Regions from separate parts of the Homo sapiens genome. Here all the other regions are linked to region 1. Evidence: promoter capture Hi-C in 16 types of primary human blood cells and fetal thymus (Javierre and others, 2016). All regions are on one chromosome and are shown on one strand. Each heading gives the region's core, a stretch centred on a gene start or on the middle of the fragment in contact. The rest is flanking DNA. Distances are from core to core; before and after follow the strand shown. Region 1 holds the start of CNNM2 (cyclin and CBS domain divalent metal cation transport mediator 2). Region 2 overlaps ARL3 (ARF like GTPase 3). Region 3 overlaps NT5C2 (5'-nucleotidase, cytosolic II). Region 4 overlaps NT5C2 (5'-nucleotidase, cytosolic II). Region 5 overlaps NT5C2 (5'-nucleotidase, cytosolic II). Region 6 overlaps CNNM2 (cyclin and CBS domain divalent metal cation transport mediator 2).

Region 1 (3,083 bases), core at 211-2,710:
TGTAGGGATCGGTGACCCGGAGCATCTCCAGCAGTTTTTCCCGGTTATAGACGGTGCCTATCTCCTGGCCCAGGACGCAGTCCAGCAGCTTGCTGACCGGGTAGGAAGCGGGGAAGGTCATCATCATGAAAAACTTGGTGAGGAAGATGGTGTTGGCCCCCACAGCCAGGCCATGCCGGGAGCAGATGGCCTGGGGCACGATCTCTCCGAAGATGACGATACCGATGGTGGAGACTACCACGGCCACGAGGCCCGAGCCGGCGATGTCGTCGAGCAGGATGGTGAGCGTGGTGTTGACCAGCACGTTGCCCAGCAGCAGTGAGCACAGCAGGTAGTTGCCCTGCCTGCGCACCGGCTCGATGCGCTTGGCGTAATTCTTCTCCTTCTCCGTGCCGCAGTTCTGCACGATGCGCAGCTCCATCGGGTCCAGGGCCATGAGCCCCAGGTTGAGGCCGCTGAACATGCCCGACAGGCACAGCAGCAGCGAAATGAAGATCACCTGCAGCCAGAAGGGCAGCAGGAACTTCTTCTCTTCGCCTACGATCATCTTGGTGTCCTCGCCGTCGTGGTAAATCCAGGTGGTCTCGGCCCACGGGGGCGGCGGGAGCCCGGCCACCCCCGAGCCACCCTTGCCCCCGACGGCGCCACCCGTGGACCCCGAGCCGCCGGCGCCCAGGGCGGGCGTGGAGAGCGACGTGCACAGGTAATAGGACTTGCTCTTCTCCATCTTGCGTAGCGGTTTGATCTCGATCTCGATGATGCCCGAGGTGCGGCGGTTGAGAATGATGTGGGGCAAGATGATGATGTCTGAGGTGCGGATGCCGCATCGCTGGGGGCCGCTGTCCGGCTCTGGCGGCGCGGGGCCCCCCAGCCCGCGCTCCCCCGGGCTGTGGCGCCGCCGCTCGTGCTCGGTGAAGGCGATGCGGGACCACGTCTCGTTATTGATGTTCTGCCCGTACACCCGCAGCTTGACCCGGGTCCGTTCGCTCACCCGCAGCGCCCCCCCTTCCATGAACGACACGTCGTTCGTGTCCTCCAGTCGCAGCCCGATGATCACCGTCTCCTCATTCTCGCCCACCGCTGCGCAGCCGCCCGCACCGCAGCAGCAGCTCAGCAGGAGCAGCGGCAGCAGCCGCCCCGCAGCCGCCTGCAGGATCCCCCGGCCGCGAGCGCTGAGGCTGCGGCGCGCCGCCATCTTCCAAGTGGGCAGTGCGGCGGCTGCCTGCCCGCCCGCCATCTTTACTTTGGGTTCACAAGCGCCACAGCCAATCATAGGGTGGCTGCTCCAGCTGCGGCTTCATCCTTTCAACCCGGCGGCGCGAGCGCAGGTACCGGCCCCTGGGCGAGACTGCAACGGAGCGTCCGCGGCCAGTGCTCAGCAGTTCGCCTCCCTGACTGACACTGACTCCACCTCAGCCAGCTGAGGAACCCCGAGGCTCGCGGGAGGGAAAGAGGGAGGGAGAGGAGCGCCGGCTGCTCCCGCGAGAGGCAGGCCGACCAGCCAATCACAAGCGGGTGCCCGCCCTCCCAGCCAGGGGGCTGGAATGGGGGCGTGACCGTGTGCCGCTCCGCGGACCAATGGCAAGGTAAGTGGGTGGGGCGACGAGAGCCACCGTCCCCGTCTGCACGCCAAGTTTCCAACTGAAAGGCGCGTGACTCTTGTGTATGTGCGAGGGGAGGGGGCGTGGCCATCTGGGACTCGAGAGCCAGTCAAAGATGAGAGCTGAAGAAAAAGGGGCGTGGCATCCGTCCTGCTGCCAATGGGAAGGAGCCGTCCCTGGGGCCCGCGCTCCCCAGGGGCCCCTGTAGTAGATCCCGGAGCCTGGACCGGCCAGGTTTGGACTAAAGCCCTGCGGCGCAAGGCGGCAGGTTCCCGGTGCACCGGTTACTGGCTCTCCAGTTCTCAATTCGTAGGCACAAAGCCGCGCGCCCTCCTGCCCCGGAAGCCCGAGAAGCCAACTAGAGGCGGCTTGGGATGCACACAGCCTAAAAAGCCGGGGCACCGGCCGCTGTCCCCAACTCCACCTGCGCGGCGCTCCGCCGGGGTAAGCGGCGTCGGTGGCCCCGGCACAGCTGCGGACCAGCAGTCCTCGCGCCTCGAGACTCCTAGGGTACGGGCTCTCTGCGGCTCGCGATCACGTGGCGCCACCTGCGGGCAGCATGAGCGCCCTGCAACGCTTTCCAGGTCGGCGGCGTACCCCAAAAGGTGTGCAGAAGTTACGGATGGAGCGGTCAGGGGGACAGTTCCCCAAATTTCCTAGTCATAGAACCCCTACATATTATTGCTAGGAGTATATACTTCCTAGACCTTTTCCCATATTTACAGAGTGGGAAGGGCCCCGAATCTGTATTCCCAGCAGGAATTCAGGCAAGTTAAGGAAATGGGAGGGGGCAAGCATCCTAAACAGACCCACAGAGGCTCATTCTTAATCACACTGACCAAACTCTGCTAGGGTCTTAGGTCACTCAAGAGCAAAAAGTTCTGGAAACCTAGCTCCCCAGTACTCCCAACGTCACCTGGAGGTGACGAGGTAGCAGAGTAGCTGCCAAATTGGTCTTTTCCTTGAAACTTAAAACATTCAGGCCGGGCGTTGGTGGCTCACGCTTGTAATCCCAGTACTTTGGGAGGCCGAGGCGGGCGGAGCATGAGGTCAGGAGATCGTAGACCACGGTGAAACCCCGTCTCTACTAAAAATACAAAAAATTAACCGGGCATGGTGGCGGGCGCCTGTAGTCCCAGCTACTCGGAGAGGCTGAGGCAGGAGAATGGCGTGAACCCGGGAGGCGGAGCTTGCAGTGAGCCGAGATCGCGCCACTGCACTCCAGCCTGGGTGACACAGGGAGACTCCGTATCAAAAAAAAAAAAAGAAAAAAAAGAAACTTAAAACATTCAAAATGTTTAATGTTTCTCTACCTCTTTTGTATTCTACAAGCACATCCCGCGCCCCCCTACCACCGCTTTTGTAAATGCATCAAACGTCTCTGATTAATTTCTGGTATGAGTAATTTCTGGAATGATTGCAGTGGCCTCCTAACTGATCTTTCCTCTTCGATACCTGTTCCTTTCCCTTCTCAACCCAGCA
Region 2 (3,083 bases), core at 208-2,707, 240 kb after region 1:
GATGGAAGCAGCATCCAGCTGCTTCTTGACCCTGGGGGCCTGATGGCACAATGAGGTAGGCTGCATTGCTCAGCAAGGGTCCGAGCACCTCATCATCTTAAAGCAATTACTGCTGTGACCACGTAACCAGCATGGCTCTAAAAACCAGGCCCACACAGCCATGGCTGCCACCGCTTCCTTCCAGCTACCGAGCAGTGATGGATGCAATGTACAGAGATCAAATTTAAGAGAGCAGCATAGTCAGAGACCACTCTTCCCTTGGAAAGAAGCAGTGCACCTTAACTTCTGGGATGCAGAGATTTGGGAGGAGTGAGTTTCCCCTGTATGCTTAGGGGTGGCCTGCTGTTTCTCCCAGTGGTTATAGGGGAGAATAATATTGTGACATAGGAAACTTTATTTCCTCTCTAGGAGGCCAAACAAAGCTCAGTATTTGAAATTCCATGTCTCTCTTTAGTCTCTGTTATTGAATTGAAGCTAATCAATTCAAATTCAGTTTCAGCAAGATTGGTCAGGGGAGGGTCCAGGGAAGGAAGGAAGGGAGGACTATTCATACCGTAAGATCGTCATCCCCATAATGAAGATCAAATGTACAGAAAATTGGTCAAACCAGTTTTTAACAATAAAGATTCGGCCAGGTGCAGTGGCTCACGCCTGTAATCCCAGCACTTTGGGAGACTGAGGTGGGTGGATCACAAGATCAGGAGATCGAGACCATCCTGGCTAACATGGTGAAACGCTGTCTCTACTAAAAATACAAAAATATTAGTCGGGCATGGTGGCGGGCGCCTGTAGTCCCAGCTACTTGGGAGGCTGAGGCAGGAGAATGGCATGAGGCGGAGCTTGCAGCGAGTCGAGATCATGCCACTGCACTCCAGCCTGGGCGACAGAGCAAGACTCCGTCTCAAAAAAAAAGCCTTCCTTGCCAGGTGAAAGCAAGAGTGGTATGGAACATTTATTTAAACATAAGAAGCAGAAGGTTCCTCCTCTTGCAAGTATGTTTTCTCTAAATGTAGCATTTCCACTGGAGGAGGTGGTCTGGGTGGATGGTTAATATGTGAGGATTGTGCAGCCAGGCAGATAACCAGGCCTCTGCATATACAGATACCCACAGCCCAGGAATCTTGAGAACTGAATGGCCCATAACAACCTCTGGCACTATCGGAGCTGCAGGGAGGCTTGGCTGGGGCTACTCCAGTCTCAGGCCCCTGTTTTTAGCGGAAGTCACAAGGAGGATAAAACCAGAATTCCTCCTTTTCCCATCTTCAGGGTGCTTCCCAGCTCCTCTTTAAGCTTGGGGCAGAACCCTTCACCCGGCAGGTACCCACATCCGTGGAGAACTGGTAAGCAGCTCTGGAGCACCACGCTGGGCACCACAGCTTGCCATTGCCCTGCTCTGTCCTGTGCCTTCATCTCCTCAGCTGTGATAGAGAAATAACACCAGCACCTACTTTGCAGGCTTCTACAAGGATTGACTTAAAAGATGTGAATTAAGTGGGCTGTGGGCTAGACATCATGTTAGGTTCTGGGAATATAATCTCCAGCAAGTCTGATGGGAGCCTCCCCTAGGGGAGCTTGGGCACCACCATTGCCTTTCCTTTCCAGGAGGCAGCTTGACAAAGCTTGCCCTGATGTGATTGACAAAGCTTGCCCCAGCTAGATCCATGGCCACGTGATTGAGGAGGTACCATTGTTGGCCAATGCCTCCCCTTCCCTCCCCTCCCACCTCCAGCCCAGTTCTCTTCTGCCCAGCACAAGAAAGATGCCACTCCCCAAGCACTAGCCGCTTCAGATTAGAGGGGCCTCCCGGGCCCAGGGCAGCCACAGGGCTCGGTCCCCTGTTTACGCTCCCTGTGCTTCCCACACTCAGGGTTGCAGCGGCAGCTGCAGGGGCCCAGGCCGGGGGTCAGCTGGCAGGGACTGGCCTCTGTGCGCCCTCTGTTGGCAGGACAGTGGCTAGAAGGGCTTCACCACTGCTGGCCCTCACAGGCACCTGGAGACACCAGACACTGTCCCTCAGCAGGGCTCTGCCGTTTGAACCCTCCTTTGCCTCCATAACAGAGACCCGGCATAAAACCACCCCACACCCTCCACCTTCTGCTTTGGGCTCCTGCAGCTGAGTAAATATTTTTCCTATCTCTTTGCCTGCATTCATGTTCAGTTATATGCAATAATCTCTCCTTAATCAGCCATAAAGCAAGGAAAAGGCAAAGCGCTATTCACATAGTGTGGGCACACTGTCCTTGATTTCTCTGAGAAGATGGTTTGAGTGCGAGCCTCCGTAGAGGAGAGAGTGTTGAGGTGCCCACCTTTGAGTGTTTGTGTGAGCCCCTGAAGGTGGAAAGTGCTATGTAAGTGCTGAGCTATTCAGCTTCCCAGGCGAGAGAAGATGCTTATCTTATTCATCCCTCTTTTATTTGTAAAATCTTTTTTGTCTCTTGACAGGTGATCTTTTTTTTTTCCTGGAAACCAATTAGCTACTAAAATTAAACATGCTTCTCTTTAAATTAATCCTTTTCATAAAATGGTCTTAAAATTGGCCTTAGCTTCTCAGAGTAAGTAGCTGACCCCATTGTAATTAGAGATGCGTTTGGAGTCCTCATTTCTCCCACCTCGGCATTCCTCTGCCCTTCCCCCTGCTGCTGCCAGGTGCTGTCCACCTTCGGGCTTTCGGCGCCACCGGCCTCATCTTGGCAAAGGTCAGATGTCGGCTCTGGGACAGCCGTCAGATTATCTAGTTCTGCTGCCCAAGTGCACTGACAGCAACTGGCAGAGTTGTAATCACTGTAAATTCAGGTGACGGTCAGATGAGCCAGGAGAGAGGATGCCTGCTGGTTGTTTTTTTGCAGTGATGTATTGTTTATGGGATTAATGTTCCGAATGGCCAAGGGTGTCAGCTGATATTTATTACTGTAAGCTGTCTCAGCTGTTCAGGTTCGGCAGCTAGATCCATGGCCACAGGAAATGTGGGACTCGGTGGCATGTCCAGTATGGCTGATGTGTGCAGATGTAGCTGGGACCTCCGTGAGCCTCTGTTACAGATGCAAGGGGAAGGACTCATGGCAGCAGCTGCCTTGGATTTTGTT
Region 3 (3,083 bases), core at 184-2,683, 240 kb before region 1:
CAAGTAATTCTCACACCTCAGCCTCCCAAGTACCTGGGACTACAGGTGCATGCCACCATACCTGGCTAATTTTTAAATTTTTTTTTGTAGAGACAGGATCTTGTATGTTGCCCATGCTGGTCTAAAACTCTTGGCCTCAAGCAGTCCTCCCAGTTCAGCTTCCTGAGTCGCTGGGATTACAGGTGTGAGCCATGGCACCTGGCCAAATTCATTTTTTAAATAATGTTATAATCCTGCTTAGATCCTTTAGTGATATCACATCGAGCATGCAACAGGATAAATTCTAACCCCGCCAAGACTCTCTAAGACTGATCTTTTTCTGTCCACTTTTGTGTTGAGCAGTTCTCTTCCTCAGATTCTGTGTTCTGTCAACTGTATCTAGCTTTGCTTTTTCTCTGAGACTGGGTCTTGCTCTGTCACCTAGGCTGGAGTGCAGTGGTGTGATCATGGCTCACTGCAGCCTTGACCTCCCGGGCTCATAGCTTTGTTTTTATTCACACATCATGATGTTTATGTCATTTTGCTTTTTGTTCATGGTTCCTCTTCTGTTGGAGACCTCTTCTTTTCCTCTTAGCCTGCTGCTAATACTTTTAGCCTGGTGATTAAGAGCTTGGGGCTAGGGTTGGCATTTTGGATTGTTCCATTTCTTTAGAATCCCAGCATTTAAGTTTTGTAAATTTTAATTTTGTAATCTTTTAAACTGGAATAACTTTACCTCATAGAGTTATTGCAAAGATTAGATGAGGTAATAAATAAAGAGCTTAGCACAGTGTCAGTTTTTAAAAAACAGTATCTCATCCTATCTCTAAGACTCAGCCAAGAGGATCTATATGTCCCTCTCTGTTGTGCGTATCTCTAATACTACTATTAACACACTACTTCATAGCTACTTTTGAATGGACCTTCTCACTAGCTTCTTAAAATCAAGGACTTCCAAGTTTATCTTTGTATCACTGGTATCTGGCACACAGACATTCAGTAAATATTTGTTTAATGTATGCATGGAGTTTGAAAGAGCTAATCATCTTTAGACAATGCCTTACCTTTTGCACAGGAAGCTTCTGTAAGTGTGTACCCTCAGTTCAAGTGATAATTTTTGTTTTCCTTTCTCTTTGCCAATAGTAAAGTCTTAAAATAGTAATTACATTTATTTCCACTGCACTGAGCTGTGATACCACAAGCTGAAAATCTAGGGAATCCATGGGAAGTTGGCACCCTTAAGGATTAGATCATTTTTCCATATTCAATTTGTATTCTTGTAGTTATGGAATTTGCTTTGAGGATAGTCAATGGAAATCCTTCATATTTGTGTAAAACTTGAGATTTAGATTTTTTAAAAAAGTATTTCCCATGAGATATATTAATGAGGCAATGCCTGATAATCCAGTTGCTTTTCCTGTTCCCCTACCCTCAGTAATAGTTCTTGGAGCGCTTACATGTGACAGACAACATCCCTACCAGATGTTATCTTCCCTTTTATAGATTAAAACGCTCAGGCTTAGGTTAAGTAACTTATTCAAAGTTCCAAAGCCAGAAAGTGGAGGAGCTGGAATTTAAGCCTTAGTTCTTCTAGTGCCCATTCTCTTTCCATTACACCATACTGCTTTTCTAAATAAACTGAAAATAATTTTCTTTTGTTTTTTCTTTTTTATTTTTTCTACCTTAAAGTCTTTTATCCCTTAATTTTATTTTGAATTTATAGTATTTAGTAGTGCTTTTAATTACTTAGTAACTATTTAAACATTTTAATAACAAAAAGAAACCTTTATGGTAAGATATTTAGGTAATATTTAAAGGGATAAAGCTTTTAAAAATTTTAAGCCTTAATTCAAGTAGTAGTTCTTTAAGGTATATGTATTTTATTTTTAATTTGAATCACCGTGAGGAGGATTTGCCATCTCAATGTTCTTAGACTTTAGCAGACTTATTTATTTCTTCCCCTGTTGCATAATCCCTATGCATTATATTGGTCGGGAGGCAGGAATGTTACAGATTCTTTTTTTTCAAAGCTCAGTTTGCTCTGAGATTTGGAATTAACCTTTAGAATGTTCTGGATTTATCCCCCATATGCCAAAGATCTGTAAATATCTTTTCACATGAGCTGAAATTTTCAGGCGATTAAGTGAAATATTTGTGAACGCAGATGTTTTGTTTAAAAGCAGTTAATGAAGTCAGAAAAAAAAATACCTCGCTGTGGAAATACTTTAGGTTCCTCCTGTAATATGATCTGCACATACTTCCTTCTCTTGTAATTCACATTGTTTATTTTCTGAGGGAGGAAATAACTACACTAATAATTAAAACATAAAATTATTTATCCTGTGTTTTTTGCTCCCAGAGTAAACTAAAAATGATTTTGACCGACCAGGGCTGCTTGATTCTGTGAAACTCACATTGTTTGCGTACTGTTGGAGGGCCTCATTAGGGGGTAAATTTGCTTTTTCTGTGTTTGCCAGTAACGATTCCTGTCTCTTACAGGAACTTGCCATTTGGATTGTCTCCTTCCTTAACTGGCCAGCCTTAAACAGTTCAGGCCATTAGTTATTTTTCCTAGTCTTGAAATTTTTAAAAAAATTATTCTTAAGTTTTCAAGTATTTAAAGCTGAGGATATTGGTCACTGAGATATTGCCTAGTTAGGGTTCGGCATTGTGCCCAAATTTGTTGGGCCTCTCAGGGCCTGAGTTCTCTGTGCTTTAACAAATGAGCTACAGTTCTCAAGAGATCAGTGAAGCTTGTTTGTTGATCCTGTATTCTCATCCAGAGGAAGTAGATCTTTGAGAATGTCTAAGGAAGGGTAAGTGATTTTATTATTCTTTCTCTTTCATTTTTCTCAGTGAAGAGGTATCATCTGCATGAATTAAAAGATTAATAAGCAGTGCTACCAGTCCGAGAGTGGAGGTAGAGGCAGAGATTGAAAGAAATTCAGCCCAAATCTTATAGTGTTTCATGTGTAATCTACTATAAAGTTGCTATTGTTGTTTTGAAAGACAGCACTGAGTAAGGGCAATCTTAATAGGAATTTTGTAAGATATAAGTACTTTGTTTACTCTGTGGTAAATTCATTTTGTTTTTCTGCAGAATG
Region 4 (3,083 bases), core at 259-2,758, 200 kb before region 1:
TTTTCATCATCCCAAACAGAAACTCCATACCCATTAAGCAATAACTCCCCATTCCCTCCACCCCTCAGTTGCTAGTAACCTCTAATTTATTTTGTCTCTATGAATTTGTCTGTTATAGGTATTTCATAAAAGTGAAATTATACAATACTTGTTTTGTGTCTGGCTTATTTCTTTTAGCATATTTTTTAAATTTGTCCATGTTATAGCATATATTACTTTTTGAGACTGAATAATATTCTACTGTAGGTATATACATTTGTTTATCTGTTCATCTGTTGATGGACATGGGGATTGTCTCCACCTTTTGGCTATTATGAATAGGCTGCTGTGAACATTGGTATTTAAGCATCTGTTTGAGTTCCTGCTTCCTGCTTTCAGTTGTTTTGGGTATATACCCAGGAATGGAATTGCTGGATCATAACGTAAATCTATGTTTAGCTTTTTAAAGAACTGCCAAACTGTTCTCTATAGTGGCTGTAACATCTTACATCCCCACCAGCAATACATGAATGAGAGTTCCAGTTTCTTCACATCTTGGCAATACTTATTTTCAGGTTTTTTGTTGTTGTTTGATAATACTCATTCTACTGGGTGTGAAGTTACGGTATCTTATGGTTTTGATTTCATGTTTCTCTAATGGCTGGTGATATTAAGCATCATTTCATGTGTTTATTTAGTCAGTTATATAACTTCTTTGGAGAAATATCAGTTTTTTAAAATTAGGTTTTTAAAATAACTGTGGAGTTACACATTCTGCATATTAATCTTTATATATTCTGGATATTAATCCCTCATCAGATACACAATTTGCAAATATTGTCTCTCATTCTGTGGGTTTTCTTTTCCCTCTCTTGATCATGGCTTTTGAGGCACAAAAGTTTTTAATTTTGAAGTCCAGTTTATCTGTTTTTTTCTTTTGTTGCCAGTGCTTTTTGCTGTCATAGCTGTGAAATCATTCCCAAATCCAATATAAGGAAGATTTTCTGCCATGTTTTCTTCTAAGAGTTTTATAGTTTTAACTCCTACATTTAGGTCTTTGATCCATTTTGAGTTTACTTCTTTTCTTTTCTTCCTTTTTTTTTTTTGAAACAGGGTCTCACACTGTCATCCAGGCTGGAGTGCAGTGGTGTGATCTCAGCTCACTGCAACCTCTGCCTCCCAGGCTCAAGTGATTCTCCCATTTCAGCCTCCCAAGTAGCTGGGACTATAGGCTCGTGCCATCATGCCTGGCTAATTTTTTTATTTTTTGTAGAAATGGGGTTTCACCATGTTGCCCAGGCTGGTCTCTAATTCCTGGACTCAAGCAGTCCACCAGCCTCAGCCTTCCAGAGTGCTGGGATTACAGGCATGAGACTGCAACTGGCCACGCCTTTTTTTTTGTTTAATGAAACCAATGACAATGTAAAAGTCTGTGCTTTAGCATTTCTTCTTAAAGAACGATGAAACTCTTTGATGAATTAAGATGGAAGATTAGCTGAGCTGAACTTACTATTGATAGCGTGTAAACTGGTTGCATCTATTTGGAGTTCTTACTGTGACGAGAGGTCTCTGAAAGGAATGTATTTGTTGAAAAGTCTTTGGTACAAAACAAGAAAGGTAACCTTTATCAAAAAGACCAAAGAAATTCTCATTGTCCTAGGTCATGAAATAATACTCAGGGCATCCTCCTCACAACTTGGAAAATATAGAACTTGTGCATTACCTCATCCCACTGGCTTCCAGATTATATGTGCAAGAGATATTTGTGTGAGGGAATGAGCACTTCTAAGTCAGTGAAAGCTACCAACCTGTATATACCCTCTGACTTTTTTTTGGAGACAAAATTTTGCTCTTGTTGCCCAGGCTGGAGTACAATGGCGCGATCTCAGCTCACCGCAACCTCTGCCTCCTGGATTCAAATGATTCTCCTGCCTCAGCCTCCTGAGTAGCTGGGATTTCAGGCATGTGCCACCATGCCTGGCTAATTTTGTATTTTTAGTAGAGATGGGGTTTCTCCATGTTGGTCAGGCTGGTCTTGAACTCCCCATCTCAGGTGATCCACCCATCTTGGCTTCCCAAAGTACTGGGATTACAGGTGTGAGCCACTGTGCCCGGCCCTCTGACTTATTCTTGAGAGATTTATCAGTTTGTGAATGGATCAAAAGCATACAACTGAAAATTAAAGAACAGAAAAATAGATGTAGTTTGACTTACTACATCTTAAAAATGCATTCATGATCTCCCTTAGTGATCTTTTTTCTTAAGAGTTTTTGGACTCTTGCCCTCCCCCACAAATAGGGTAGAATAAGAGAATAAGCTGAGTATTTAAACTAGGGTAACAGATAAAAAGAAAAAAAAAATTCCCTCTCCAAAAAGAGATGATCCCTTAAAAAACAAACAAACAAAAAAGATAATTGTGGTTAATAAAATTAATAAAAATAAATTAGAAAACATTCATAAAACTAAACAAAGTAAAAATCTAATCAGAATATATCATAAGGACTCAACCCCTAAAGGAGATTTGTGAAGATGAAATGTGATGATTTTGTCCAGGCATGGTGGCTTATTCCTGTAATTAATGCCAGCACTTTGGGAGGCCGAGGCAGATGGATTGCTTGCACCTAGGAGTCCAGGACCAGCCTGAGCAACATAACAAAACCGCATCTCTACAAAAAATGCAAAAATTAGTTGAGCGTGGTGCACGTCTGTAATCCCAGCTACTCTGGAGGCTGAGGTGGGAGAATTGCTTGATCCTGGGAGGCGGAGGTTGCAGTGAGCTGAGATTGTGCCACTGCACTTCAGCCTGGGCTACAGAATGAGACCTATCCAAAAAAAAAAAAAAAGGAAAAGAAATATGATAATTTCATGCTAGATTCATTGAATTGTATCAATGTTCTGATTAGACTAAACTGAACTTGACAAGGCCTATGGTGAATAGATTTACATAGCTGTTAGGTTCATTATTTATAGTTTTAACTATGAAGCAATAAATGATGAATAGACTATAAAGACTACTGTTATATAGGATTTATACTTTACTTTTTTTCCAAAAGGGATTTGAGGTGACTTGCAAAATTAAGCACATATAAAATGGGTCAAAAGAC
Region 5 (3,083 bases), core at 191-2,690, 180 kb before region 1:
TAATCCAGGTCACTCTGAGTGTGAGCTTTAAATTTGATTTCCTTTATTTACATTGTTAATCTCCATGTATTCACTGTCAGAACTGTGCATTTTTATATTTTAGTATTTTTCCCTTTGAGTTTCTCTGAAATGTTTTCTTCTAGAAGTGTTTTTGCATCTTTAACAAATTCTGCTTCACTGGCTTTTTTCTTTTAAACCTTGAATTTTCTTCATGGTTCTGTTCTGTCTCTTCTCTTCCTTCTCTGCACACTAAGTGGTTTCATCTCCTCTAATACTTTTCATGATTCCATCTAGTATCTGTACGTAGATGATCTCAGTTATCTCTCAAGGCTGAATCTCTTTTAAGTTCTTGACCTTTGTTTCTAATTGCCTAATAAAAATCAGTTTACTTCAAACTTAGTATCACTAAAATAGAACTACTCTCACATCACTTCTTATCTAGTTTTCATATTTCTGTTCATCGTACCAACCACCTCTCAGAGACACCTTAGCATGGACATCATCATCTTTGACTCTTTAATGTTCCCCCAGCCAAATCTGCTCAGTTTGCCGGGTCTTATTTTACCTTGGTAATCTCTCTTGAATATATGAGTGAGCTGAGATCACGCCACTGCACTCCAGCCTGGCCGACAGAGTGAGACTCTGTCTCAAAAAAAAAAAAAGAAAAAAGAAAAAATTCTGAGAGTCAACTGGGTGATTCTGGGTTGCACAGCTGATCTCTCTATGCTCTTTCACATGTCTGTGGTTAGCTGGTGGGTGACCTGGCATCTGATCTACAATGGCCTCATGCACATGTCTGGCATTCACAGGCTGTTGGCCGAGTGCTTCATTTCTACATGTAGCCTTCTATCCTCCAGCAGACTATCTCACTGTCATGCACATAGTAGTCCATGGTTCCAAGTGCTGCAAGAGAGATTAAGCCTCAATACACACATGTTTTTCTAGGTCTCTGCTTGGATCCCATTTGCTGCTATACAAGCCTATATTCAAGGATAGAGAAATAGACTGAGTTCTAATGGGAGGAGCCACAAAATTGCATCACAAAGAGACAGGAAGAATTTGTGGCCATTGTTGGAGTGCATCACATTGTCTTTCCCCAGTTTATCCTAAAACAGCCACTAATTTAATTTTGTTTTACAACTCAGCCCCGATGGGATTATCCTCTGCTTTAAAACTGTCAGTAGTACCCTCTTGCCCCTAAATGGTGTAGAAACAGTAGCTTAATCTGCCTCAACCCATCTTTCTAGCTTAATTTTTCTCTGCTCCCCTTTCTCTACCCAAGTTGGACTAGTTTCACAACTGGTCCACCTAGCCTTTAAGGCCCAGCTCATATACCAGCACGTGCATGAATCCTTCCTAGATTTTCCTCTCCTTAGTCCTCACATTTGCTTCTCTCTACCTCTTAAGTTGAAATGGTGTTCCCTTCTTTGGTTTTCTCATAAATGTTTGCACCTTTCTTGTAGTAGTTGTGATTTTTTACCTTATAATTATATGTGTATGTGACCCACCTCGCCCACCACACTGACAACTCTTTTAAGAGCTGGAACCTAAGCTGGACATCACACCTGTAATCCCAGCTACTTGGGAGGCTGAGGTGGGAAGATTGCTTGAGCAATCTTCAGGAGTTTGAGTCCAGCCTGGACTTAAAATAGCAAGACTGTCTTAAAAAAAAAAAAAAATTAAAATTAAAAAAAATAAAGAGCTGGAACCTGAACTCGTTCATCTTCATAGCTATCCATGCGTAATATTCGGAATTCTGTCTTGCACATAGCCATCAAAATATTTGAGTTAATTTTTGAATAATGCTATTTCCCAATTATTATAATGTTATTTTAAAAATCAGTTAATTTTTAAATTTTTCTTTCAGACCAGAAACTAGAGAACAGTATCCAAATAAATTTATCCAGCGAGATGATACTGAAAGATTTTACATTCTGAACACACTATTCAACCTACCAGGTAGATTCATTCTATGCTTATTTATACTGATGCTTTCCCTTCTGTGACCATTAGTCTGTATTCAAGGGAGGTAATGAAATAAGTTTGAATTATTTCATTATAGCTTATGAATATCTGTTCTTCATTTTTCAGAGACCTACCTGTTGGCCTGCCTAGTAGATTTTTTTACTAATTGTCCCAGATATACCAGGTATGTATATACTATAATTATTTTTTTCCAATTGATTTTTAAAATTAATGCACAGGGTTTTAGAGAACTGGCCATTGTAGGTCTTTTCTGCTTTTCTAAAGTGAATTTAGTGCTAGTGAGAGATGCCACATTGCCAACCTGAGAGATGGGACAGCACCAGCAGCTCCATGCAGGCTCTCACCTCCCACACGGCCCCTCTCCTTGCCAGTGTGCTGCAGCCACCACTTCTGATTGGCTTCTCCTGGGAATGAAGACGGCCAGCAGAGGTGCTAATTGTGACAACTGAGTGGGAGGTTTGTGTGATGATTATCTGTCCAAGCAGAATTACACTAAAACCCCCCAACTCATTTCACAGCAGCTACCCAGGAGCCATTCAGGGATGGTAATTTAATTTCATTCCCAGGCCAGGCAAGATTTGATTAAGGAATAAATACTGTGTATCTTATCAGAAGTAAAATTTTGCGTAAGTCTTAAACAAGTTATCCTCTCCCTTTAGGGAGAATTATATAGCCAATACTGAAAGTTTAGCCATCTATATACCAGAGTTGGCTAACTTCTTATCCTCTTTGGGCTTTATCCACTTGAAGACACTAAATTTGGTGGAAAGCTGAGTCACTGAACTAAATAAAAAAATGGACAGTACCTTTGTACTTAGGGACAGTGTCAGGAAAGTCAGGGTGGAAAGAACCTAAATGACCAATTTTAAGTTTTAAATGTTTCTTCAACCTGTTTCTAAAAAGTGATAAATAAAAAAACCTGACATTTTTGGAACTTTGGCCTTTTAGCTTCCATTCAATATATTCTTCTATCACTTTGTATTTGTTCACAATTACTGTATTCCATTGAACACTATAGCCATTTCTGGTGGTCAAAGTGGACTTTCATTAGGGAGTAATTATTTTCCTCATTAGCCACAGCCTTTACCCATGTGATA
Region 6 (3,083 bases), core at 239-2,738, 140 kb before region 1:
GGGGTCTCACTCTGTCCCTCAGGCTGGAGTGCAGTGGCACGATCTCGGCTCACTGCAATCTCTGCCTCCCAGGCTCAAGTGATTCTCCCACCTCAGCCTCCTGAGTAGCTGCCACCACTCCTAGCTGATGTTTGTATTTTTGTAAAGACAGGGTTTCACCACATTGCCCAGGCTGGTCTTGAACTCCTGGACTCAAGTGATCTGCCCGCCTCAACCTCCCAAAGTTCTGGGATTACAGGCGTGAGCCACCATGCCCAGCACTTTTATGTATTTTTTATTTCGAATTTTATTTCATTATCATCGATTCAGGTAGTTTCATGAAATTTCTATCTTTTTGTATTTACTAGCATGTACACTGTAACATGATAAATGATCAATTTTTATGAGTCACATAGCTTTTTTATTGAGACATGCTCACTCTGTCGCCCAGGCTGGAGTACAGTGGCACAATCACAGCTCACTGCAGCCTCCAACACCTGGGCTTAAGCAATCCTGCCTCAGCCTCCTGAGCAGCTGGGACTGTAGGTACCTGTCACCAAACCCGGCTAATTTTTAAAAAATTTTTTGTAGAGAAGGGGATCTTGCTCTGTAGCCCAGGCTGATAAACTTCTGGCCTCAAACGATCCTATCTTGACCTCCCAAAGTTCTGGGATTACAGGCATGAGCTACCACACCCAGCCCACATAAGCTTTTTCGAAAGTATATTTCTCTTGATTATGTTTAATTTCCTCCAAATCTGTTAATTCTATTTTACAAGGTATTCAGTTTAAAACTATGACTTTTTTTTTTAGTATGCCTGATCTTCTATGATGGTGGAAAAACACTTCCACCAAAATCATGTTCCTATTTCTTACATACGTATTTTGTTAAGTTATTTAAAGCATGTAGAGCCAATAAAGTTTTTTCCATGATTTACTGTGCTTTTAACTGTCTTTATTGCTTCTGAAATGCATTTTGGTGTAAAAATCTACTTTTACAGATAAAACTTGAAGTTTTGGCTTTTTTATGCATATGTAGTGGGAGGTATGTACATGGTAACTTACAAAATACTCTTGTTTACTTAGGTCATTTTCCTTGAATAATTTGGAATTTATCTTATCTAGGGCTTCAACTAAAAAATGATGTGTTTCTATTTACAATTATATTCCTATCAATTACTTAAAGGGTTTTTTCCTGCAGGGAGAGCATCTCACTGGCACTGAGGCCAGGAAGGGAAGGCAGATATTATTGCTTTTTTCTTATTTAGTGCTCTTGAAATGCAGTGGAGGCCAGACGCGGTGGCTCATGCTTGTAATCCCAGTGCTTTGGGAGGCTAAGGCAGGTGGATCACTTGAGGTCAGGAGTTCAAGACCAGCCTGGCCAACAAGGTGAAACCCCATCTCGACTGAAAATACAAAAATTAGCCGGGTGTGGTGGAGCACGCCTGTAGTCCCAACTACTTGGGAGCCTGAGGCAGGAGAATTGCTTAAATTTGGGAAGCAGAGGTTGCGGTGAGCCAAGATCACACCACTGCACTCTAGCCTGGGTGACAGAGCAAGATTCCCTCTCAAAACAAACAAAAAACAAAACAAACAAAAAAACAAACAAACTCCACAGTGGATCATGCTCCCTAAAGTGGCATGAACTTCCAACGCTGGCTTAGTGACATATTAGGTAGAATATGCTTTGTTAATGATGGCAGCTATGCCAGATTGACTGAGGCTGTGAGGGTGTTTCATTTTGCTCTTCTCTTTGTACCTTAGGTAACTGGCTGTCTGCAAGATCATGGTTTTTCACCAAACATCTCCGTAAGTCCTGTTCATCAAACATACACACTACTTGTAAAACCCCCATGGCATTATCAGCCTAACAGTTCAAAAAACTTGTCACCTTTATATAAGTATTTAACACAAATTGGTATACAAATACAGGTAAATATACATAGATGTCTTATCAAAAATATCTTAAAAGATTTACTTGTAAATGGACAGAGATTATGAAGTCCCTTTTCCATAAGATTTTTAGATCCATGGCTTTCTTATATAGCAATAAAGCATTACTGAATCACAACTTCATAAACACTAACTATATAAAAGTAGACAACTGAAAACCACAGTTTCTAATATTAACACTAAAATTCACAATGTCAATATTCCAATTCCTCCTGTGACAGTCTTTGATGTATCCAGAGTTTCTCCAGGCTTAAGGAATATTCGCATCTCACTCTTATGAGAAACATGAATGTTTTATTCCCTCACTGCAGTAAATAAACTAAATTCCCAACAGTGCACTCAGAGTTACAAGCTTACATTATCTCCAAAGAGGAAAGAAAAAAAACAATTGAGGAAAACTAAATTTAGAAGATGAATCAGCGTACTAAATTAGTAAACTTGCAAACAGAAGTTTCTAAGAAGGACTGTAAGAATGTGACATGTAATCAGCTAACCCTCGGCATTTTCCTACTCCTCACTCCTGCTTCCAAACACCACAATGCTGCCCAAACATGGGGTCACACATGAACACAACACTTTCCCGAGCTTGAATCTACACATTTGATCCACATTAGCATTTTATCGACTAATATCCACCTTGGCCTCCATGCCAAGGATAGAGCTCTATTAAGTGAAACTGTGATAAAACAAGGCCTCCTGTCAACCCAAGCACCAAAGCCACTCAAAGGAAGTTTAGAATGAATTGACCTTCTCACCTCATCTACTGAATTATGTTACAGTGAGAAGGAATTAGCTACTCTGCTGTAAGAGGCTGTAATTATCCTATCAGTTCCTCTATAAAACAGTTTGGTTGGTAACCAGGAATAAAAACAACAACAAATGGATTATTTTGATGGCGTTAATGGAAGAGATGCTAAGATATCTCTAAGAAGCTGTATAAACTTAAGTCCTCATGAAGGATGGAAAAAAGGATGGAAAAAGGACCAATAACCCATGACACTTAAATTTCAAACACCCACTGAGATTCAGACATGTACTGGTAAACTCTCCCACACTCTTCAAAAAATACTAACAATTGAATTCACCATTTTCATCTGACTCAGTAATCACTAGGTGCATCCCCCCAACTTTTTTTTTTTTTTTAAAACAGGG

Evidence for each region. Contacts are between HindIII fragments. The CHiCAGO score rates a contact against its expected background, and 5 or more counts as called.
Region 2: a contact is called between a fragment that was not itself captured here and the fragment with the promoter of CNNM2 in region 1, in 1 of 17 cell types (megakaryocytes). The highest score is 5.1, in megakaryocytes.
Region 3: a fragment that was not itself captured here is called in contact with the fragment with the promoter of CNNM2 in region 1 in 4 of 17 cell types (M1 macrophages, megakaryocytes, erythroblasts and 1 more); the score reaches 7.3 in M1 macrophages.
Region 4: a fragment that was not itself captured here is called in contact with the fragment with the promoter of CNNM2 in region 1 in 3 of 17 cell types (erythroblasts, megakaryocytes and M2 macrophages); the score reaches 9.0 in erythroblasts.
Region 5: a contact is called between a fragment that was not itself captured here and the fragment with the promoter of CNNM2 in region 1, in 7 of 17 cell types (megakaryocytes, erythroblasts, M2 macrophages and 4 more). The highest score is 11.8, in megakaryocytes.
Region 6: a contact is called between a fragment that was not itself captured here and the fragment with the promoter of CNNM2 in region 1, in 15 of 17 cell types (megakaryocytes, erythroblasts, endothelial precursors and 12 more). The highest score is 35.2, in megakaryocytes.

Annotation. Positions count from the first base shown.
Region 1 is chr10:102,916,671-102,919,753 of GRCh38, reverse strand. It overlaps CNNM2 (cyclin and CBS domain divalent metal cation transport mediator 2), which reads right to left and starts at 1,460. Exons shown (of 8, transcript NM_017649.5): 1 at 1-1,460. The coding sequence starts at 1,273. LOC107984265 (a long non-coding RNA gene) reads left to right here and starts at 1,419. Exons shown (of 3, transcript NR_160733.1): 1 at 1,419-1,586. RefSeq lists silencers at 785-874, 1,485-1,664 and enhancers at 1,134-1,820, 1,821-2,507. The HindIII fragment of the contact is 7,117 bases long and covers 1-3,083 here.
Region 2 is chr10:102,677,790-102,680,872 of GRCh38, reverse strand. All of the region lies in intron 5 of ARL3 (ARF like GTPase 3), which reads left to right. Among named protein-coding and RNA genes, the nearest start is that of TRIM8, 35 kb to the right of the region's middle. The HindIII fragment of the contact is 329 bases long and covers 1,293-1,621 here.
Region 3 is chr10:103,153,003-103,156,085 of GRCh38, reverse strand. All of the region lies in intron 3 of NT5C2 (5'-nucleotidase, cytosolic II), which reads left to right. Among named protein-coding and RNA genes, the nearest start is that of NT5C2, 39 kb to the left of the region's middle. The HindIII fragment of the contact is 746 bases long and covers 1,061-1,806 here.
Region 4 is chr10:103,118,101-103,121,183 of GRCh38, reverse strand. The region is part of intron 4 of NT5C2 (5'-nucleotidase, cytosolic II); the gene reads left to right. Among named protein-coding and RNA genes, the nearest start is that of NT5C2, 74 kb to the left of the region's middle. The HindIII fragment of the contact is 5,128 bases long and covers 1-3,083 here.
Region 5 is chr10:103,100,111-103,103,193 of GRCh38, reverse strand. It overlaps NT5C2 (5'-nucleotidase, cytosolic II), which reads left to right. Exons shown (of 19, transcript NM_001351169.2): 7 at 1,868-1,959; 8 at 2,092-2,149. Among named protein-coding and RNA genes, the nearest start is that of NT5C2, 92 kb to the left of the region's middle. The HindIII fragment of the contact is 6,803 bases long and covers 1-3,083 here.
Region 6 is chr10:103,057,457-103,060,539 of GRCh38, reverse strand. All of the region lies in intron 4 of CNNM2 (cyclin and CBS domain divalent metal cation transport mediator 2), which reads right to left. Among named protein-coding and RNA genes, the nearest start is that of NT5C2, 130 kb to the left of the region's middle. The HindIII fragment of the contact is 1,595 bases long and covers 691-2,285 here.